2 separate regions of the Homo sapiens genome follow, and region 2 is linked to region 1. Evidence: promoter capture Hi-C in human tissues and cell types (Jung and others, 2019). All regions are on one chromosome and are shown on one strand. Each heading gives the region's core, a stretch centred on a gene start or on the middle of the fragment in contact. The rest is flanking DNA. Distances are from core to core; before and after follow the strand shown.

Region 1 (3,277 bases), core at 207-2,706:
CCCAAATCATCATGCGAATTACTGTGAAGCTACATTTCTCCAGGGCTTTACCATGTACAGAGCCAGGATTTGAACTCGGGTGGACTGATTCTATTCTCAGATTCCATCCTGCCTCCCAGCCATCCTACTGCTCACCGAGCCTTGCAGAGCAGGCTGGCACCTGGCATGCTTGGCAGTGGGTACATCCTTCCTCATTCCACAACTGAGGAAGCAGCAGCTCCGTGAAATTAGGCCGTTTGCAATGGCCACATACTCCTGAGAGGTAGAATGGGTACTCTACCAGTGCTGACCAACCAGACTTGAGCTCATCATTCAACACATGGCACCTGAACTGAGAAAAGGGGTCATGGGATGGAAAGAGCTCTGGACCCCTGACAATTCTGTGGCCCTAGCCTACAGCTCCCCACAAGGCTCAGCTCCTATATAGGGACTCCATGGTCTAGTGGGAAAGGCCCTGGGCCAGAAGGCCATGGCCAGGTTTAGGTCAGGACTCTGTAGCACTAGTTATGTGACCTTAGGAAGTCACTTTGTCCCTGTGACTTGGTTTCCGCATCTGCAAAACAGAGATAACATCTAACCTCACGTGATTATTGTCATCTAGTGAGATAAGTGAATGTGGAATCACTTTGAAAAGACTACAACACTACACTGCAGGATAGCCTTGTCGCCTGTAAAGGAAACCTCTCCAAGGCTGTGACCACTACAGATTTTGCCTGAGGTTAAGTCCCTTACTTCTCTCCCACTCCCACCCCCAGCCTGCCTGGGTTCAGTGTTCTTAAATTGAAACTGAAGCTAGAATGAACCTGAGGAAAGAAATATTAGTCTATGTGTATAGATGTCCAAGCCCACTGGGCATGATTTCCTAACCCCACCTCCAGCGTGCGCGCGCACACACACACACACACACACACATATACACACACACACACAGACACACACAATTATTTACTTCCTTCCCACCTAAAATGATTTCTCAAAATGAAATTACTTCCTATGGACACCTTGGACTCAGGCCAAAAAAAATTCCAATTGCTGGTAGTTTCTAAAGTGCTTGTTATGTGGGAAAGTTGACAAAAAACAATAGCTATAATATAGTGATCTTTCTTTCCACCAAGCATTCCATACGTGTTATCTCATTTGAGGTACCTTCAAAACAACTCTAGGAGTTATTTCCAGGTGAGGGGTCATTTAGAGGACATTGTCGATTGGCCAACCCAGCGTCTTGTTTTTCCTTCCCTAAAGAATCCCCATTGGGTTCATAGATCTGGTTCCACCCTTCACCACTTGGTCCAGAAGCAGGGGTGGAAGTGATGCAAAATGGTTGAATTCTAGATATATTTTGAAGACATGACCAAAAGGATGTGTGAGGGACTGGCTGTTGGTGTGAAAGAGAGGCATTACGAATGAGATTGGGCATGGAGACGTGTTTGGTGAGACAGAAGGCTTCATGCAAATACAAGATCATGCTTTTTATTATTAAGGAATGTTAACTTCCTCTTTTAGTATGGCCCCTCTGCCATCACATATGGAGACCATCCTTTGCTGGGGAGAATCTCCCCTTCTTTGCCAGGATCCTTTTTTTGCAATTTCTCCTAGTTATTAGTTTATGCAAACTCAGGGGTACAAAATGATTTTAAGGGAAGCATGCTGCCAAAATAACCATGACGTTCCTTCCCAAGCTACAAATAAGTCATTGATTAGCCCATTGGTGTACCTTACCTCAATAAACAAGGGCCAGTTGTATTCTGCCCTGGATCTTGTATAATGAACTTCTTCTTCTCCATAGCTCACAGCAGGCAGTGAAGGCTGAGGATCTTCATGCTTCTTCCCTGGCTCCCCTAGAATGGATGTGTGTGGCTGGAAAGAAATGGAGGTTGCGCTGGTCAATTTTGATAATTCAGATGAAATCCAAGAAGAGCCAGGCTATGCCACAGACTTCGACTCAACCAGCCCAAAAGGCCGGCCTGGGGGCAGCTCCTTCTCCAACGGGAAGATCCTCATCAGCGAAAGCACCAACCATGAGACGGCCTTCTCCAAGCTTCCGGGAGACTATGCTGACCCCCCAGGGCCTGAGCCAGTGGTCCTAAATGAAGGAAACCAGCGGGTGATCATCAACATTGCTGGGCTGAGATTTGAGACCCAGCTCAGAACCCTTAGTCAGTTCCCAGAGACTCTCCTGGGAGACCGGGAAAAAAGGATGCAGTTCTTTGACTCCATGAGAAATGAGTATTTCTTTGATCGGAACCGGCCCAGTTTTGATGGAATCCTATATTATTACCAATCTGGTGGGAAAATTCGGCGCCCAGCCAATGTTCCCATTGATATCTTTGCTGATGAAATCTCCTTCTATGAGCTGGGTAGTGAGGCCATGGACCAGTTCCGGGAGGATGAAGGCTTCATCAAAGACCCTGAAACACTGCTACCCACCAATGACATCCACCGTCAGTTCTGGCTCCTCTTTGAGTACCCTGAAAGTTCCAGCGCTGCCCGTGCTGTGGCCGTGGTCTCGGTGTTGGTTGTGGTCATCTCCATCACCATCTTCTGCCTGGAGACACTGCCAGAGTTCCGGGAGGATAGGGAGCTAAAGGTGGTCAGAGACCCCAATCTCAACATGAGCAAGACAGTCCTCTCCCAGACCATGTTCACCGACCCTTTCTTCATGGTGGAGTCTACCTGCATCGTGTGGTTCACCTTCGAGCTGGTGCTCCGGTTCGTGGTCTGCCCCAGCAAGACTGACTTCTTCAGGAACATCATGAACATCATTGACATCATCTCCATTATCCCCTACTTTGCAACTCTCATCACAGAGCTAGTCCAGGAGACAGAGCCGAGTGCCCAACAGAACATGTCCCTGGCCATCCTGAGGATCATCCGCCTGGTGAGGGTCTTCCGCATCTTCAAGCTCTCGCGCCACTCCAAGGGGCTGCAGATCCTCGGGCAAACACTGAAGGCGTCCATGCGGGAGTTGGGGTTGCTCATCTTCTTTCTCTTCATTGGAGTCATCCTCTTCTCCAGTGCAGTCTACTTTGCTGAGGTGGATGAGCCAGAGTCCCATTTCTCTAGCATTCCTGATGGCTTCTGGTGGGCAGTGGTCACCATGACAACTGTAGGCTATGGGGACATGTGCCCGACCACCCCAGGGGGGAAGATTGTGGGCACTCTGTGTGCCATTGCAGGGGTCCTCACCATTGCCCTCCCTGTGCCTGTCATTGTCTCCAACTTCAATTACTTCTACCACCGGGAGACTGAGAATGAAGAAAAGCAGAACATCCCAGGA
Region 2 (3,277 bases), core at 475-2,974, 320 kb before region 1:
GTCTTGGTATCTTTGTCACAAATGAATTGTCTGTGAATGTGAGAGTTTATAATTGCACTCTGAATTCTGTTCTATCAGCCTGTGTGTCTATCCTTATGCCAGTACCATACTACGTTTGGTTTCTGTGGCTTTGAAATATATATTAATATCAGAAAATGTAAATTCTTCAACTTATTCTTTTTCAAAATTGTTTGACTAGAATCTATTGTAATTCTATATGAATGTTAAGATCAGATTTTCCATTTGTGCAAAAAATGACATTAAGATATTGATAATTATTTTTATGTATCTGTATATCTCTTTGGGGAGTATTGTCTTCTTAATATGAAGTCCTCTAATCCATGAACATGAATATCTTTTTCTTTATTTAGGTCTTTAATTCCTTTCAGCAATGTTTTTGTAGTTTTCAGTATACAAGTCTTGTCTTGGTTAAATTTATTCTTAATTTTTTTATGGTATTGTGAATGAAATTTTTTTAAACTTTCATTTTCAGATTATTCATTGTTAGGATGTGGAAATAAAACCGATTTTTTGTATGTTTACCTGGTAATCTGCAACTTTGCTTAATTCATTTATCAACTCTAGTAGTTTTTTTGTGTGTAGATTCTTTGGGATTTTCTTTATATGCGATTATATCATTTGAAAATGGAAATATATTTACTTTCTCCTTTGCAGTTTTGATACAATGCCTTTTATTCTTTTTCTTATCTAATTTTCCTGCTTAGAATTTCCATAACAATGTTGAATGGAAGTGACAGAGATGGACATCCTTGTCTTGTTCCTGATCTTAGGGCAAACCTTTCAGACTTTAATCATCAAATATAGTGTTAACTCTGGGTTTTTTTTATATAAGGCTTTTATCATGTTGAGGAAGTTCTCCCCTATTTCTAGTTTGTTGAATATTTTTATTATTATAAGGTGCTGGATTTTCTCAAATTCTTTTTCAGCATCAGTTGAGACAATCATATGATATTGTCCTTTATTCTATTACTGTAGTGTATTATATTGATTGATTTTTTTATATGAAACCATACTTGCATTCTTGGGATAGACCCCATTTGGTCGTGGTGTGTAATCCTTTTAATATGTTGCTGAACAAACTCCTGGGCTCAAGCAATTCTCTGCTCCAGCTACCCAGGAGGTTTTTAGTATACATATCTTTCACCTCCTTGATTAAATTTATTCTTGACTATTTTGATTTTTTGTATATATTATAAATGGTATTGTTTTCTTCATTTCTTGTTCAGATAGTTTGTTGTTAGTGTATAGAAATGCTACTGATTTTTGTATGTTGATTTTGTACCCTGCTACTTTATTGAATTTGTTTATTAGTTCTATTTTTTGCTGGAATCTAAATTTTTCTAAATATAAGGTCCTGTCATATGCAAACAGACAATTTAACTTTTTCCTTTCCCATTTGGATGGCTTTTAATTCTTCCTCTTGCCTGATTACTCTCTCTAGGGCTTCTAGTACTGTGTTGAATATACACGCAATGGAATACTATTCAGCCTTTAAAAAAGAAAATCCTGTCATTTGCAGCAACATGGAAGAAGCTGGAGGACATTATGTTCAGTGAAATAAGCAAGGCACAGAAAGAAAAATACCACATGGATTCTAAAAAGGTTAAACTCATAGGAACAGAGAGTAGAATAGTGGTTACCAGTCTGGGAAACGGGGTTAATAGAGAGATGTTGGTCAAAGGATATAAAATTTTAGTTGGACAGGAGGAATAAATTCAGGAAATCTATTATACATCAAGGTGAATACAGTTAATAACAATGTATTGTATACTTGAAAATTACTAAAATAGTAGATTTTAAATGTTTTCACCACAAATATAATAAGTATGTGAGGTAATCATATATTAATTAGATTGATTAGGCATTTCACAATATATACATATATCAAAACATCATGCTATACAAAACTAATATATATAATTTTTATTCAGTAAAAATAATTAGTTTTGAAAAGAGTTTAATGTAATATTTTAACAGTTTAAATTACTGTAAAAATCAATGATGAATAAAATATTTAAAAGTTTAAATCATTTACCTGCCACTTATACGTGAGAACATGTGGTATTTGGCTTTCTGAATGCAAAGAAGGGAACAACAGATACTGGGGCCTACTTGAAAGTGAAGGGTGGGAGGAGGTAGAGGAACAACAACAAAAATAACAATTAGGTACTAGGCTTAGTACCTGGTTATGAAATAATCTCACAGCAAACCCCCATGACACAAGTTTACCTATAGAATAAATCCACACATGTATCCCAAAATCTAAAGTAAAAGCTAAATAAATTTCCATACAAAATTTGCAAAGTGCATATATGACAAAGAACTAGTAATCAGAATATATAAAGAACGGTCAAAACTCACCAGAAAATAATCTAGTTAGAAAATGGCAAAAGACATAAAAAGACATTTCACTAAAGAGGATATACAGATGGCAAATGAGCACATCAAAATATGTTCAACATCATTAGCCATTATGGAACCACAAATTAAAACAGCAATAAAATATCACTATACACCTATCAGAATGGCTAAAATAAAAACAAAGACATCAAAATCTGGCAAGGATGCAGAGAAATTGGATCCCTCATATCTTTGTAGAAATGTAAAACAGCATAGCTGCCATGAAATACAGTTTGGCAGGTTCTTTCAAAACTTAACCTGCAATTACCATACAACCCAGCAATTGAACTATTAGGCATTTAATCCAGAGAAATAAAAACTTATGCTCACAAAAAATGTGTACAAATGTTTATAGCAGCTTTATAGTAATAGCCAAAAACTGGAAACAATCCTTATGTCCTTCAGTAACTGGTTTTAAGCAAACTGTGGCATATTCATACCATGGAATATTAATCAGCAATAAAAAAGAATAAACAATTGCTACATGCAGCAACCCGGACAAATCTCTATAGAATTATGCTAAATGGGGGGAAGAAAGCTGATTTCAAAGGGGTTACCTTCTCATGATTCCATTTATACAACATTCTTTTTTTCTTGAGTGGAAACAAACCAAACTTTAATTTTTATAATCTTTTGAGTGACCGGATTACAAGGAGTTTTTACTTTCTGTTTCATACTTGAATTTTTTCTAATTCTGTTACAATAAACATGCTACAAAGTAAGCACTAAAATAAGTAAGCAACGTACTTCATTACTGAGGCCTCAATTCAAATGCTACTTCTTCCAAGCAGAATCCAATGTCTACTATCCTGAACATTTCTGTCATTACTAGTACCTTCTGCAAGCACTTATCACA

What was found. Contacts are between HindIII fragments. The study calls those that stand out against the background at their distance.
Region 2: a contact is called between a fragment that was not itself captured here and the fragment with the promoter of KCNA10 in region 1, in 1 of the 25 tissues and cell types used here (spleen).

What each region holds. Positions count from the first base shown.
Region 1 is chr1:110,517,354-110,520,630 of GRCh38, reverse strand. It overlaps KCNA10 (potassium voltage-gated channel subfamily A member 10), which reads left to right and starts at 1,456. Exons shown (of 1, transcript NM_005549.2): 1 at 1,456-3,277. The coding sequence starts at 1,844. The HindIII fragment of the contact is 7,025 bases long and covers 1-3,277 here.
Region 2 is chr1:110,836,495-110,839,771 of GRCh38, reverse strand. No RefSeq gene overlaps it. Among named protein-coding and RNA genes, the nearest start is that of CD53, 35 kb to the left of the region's middle. The HindIII fragment of the contact is 9,467 bases long and covers 1-3,277 here.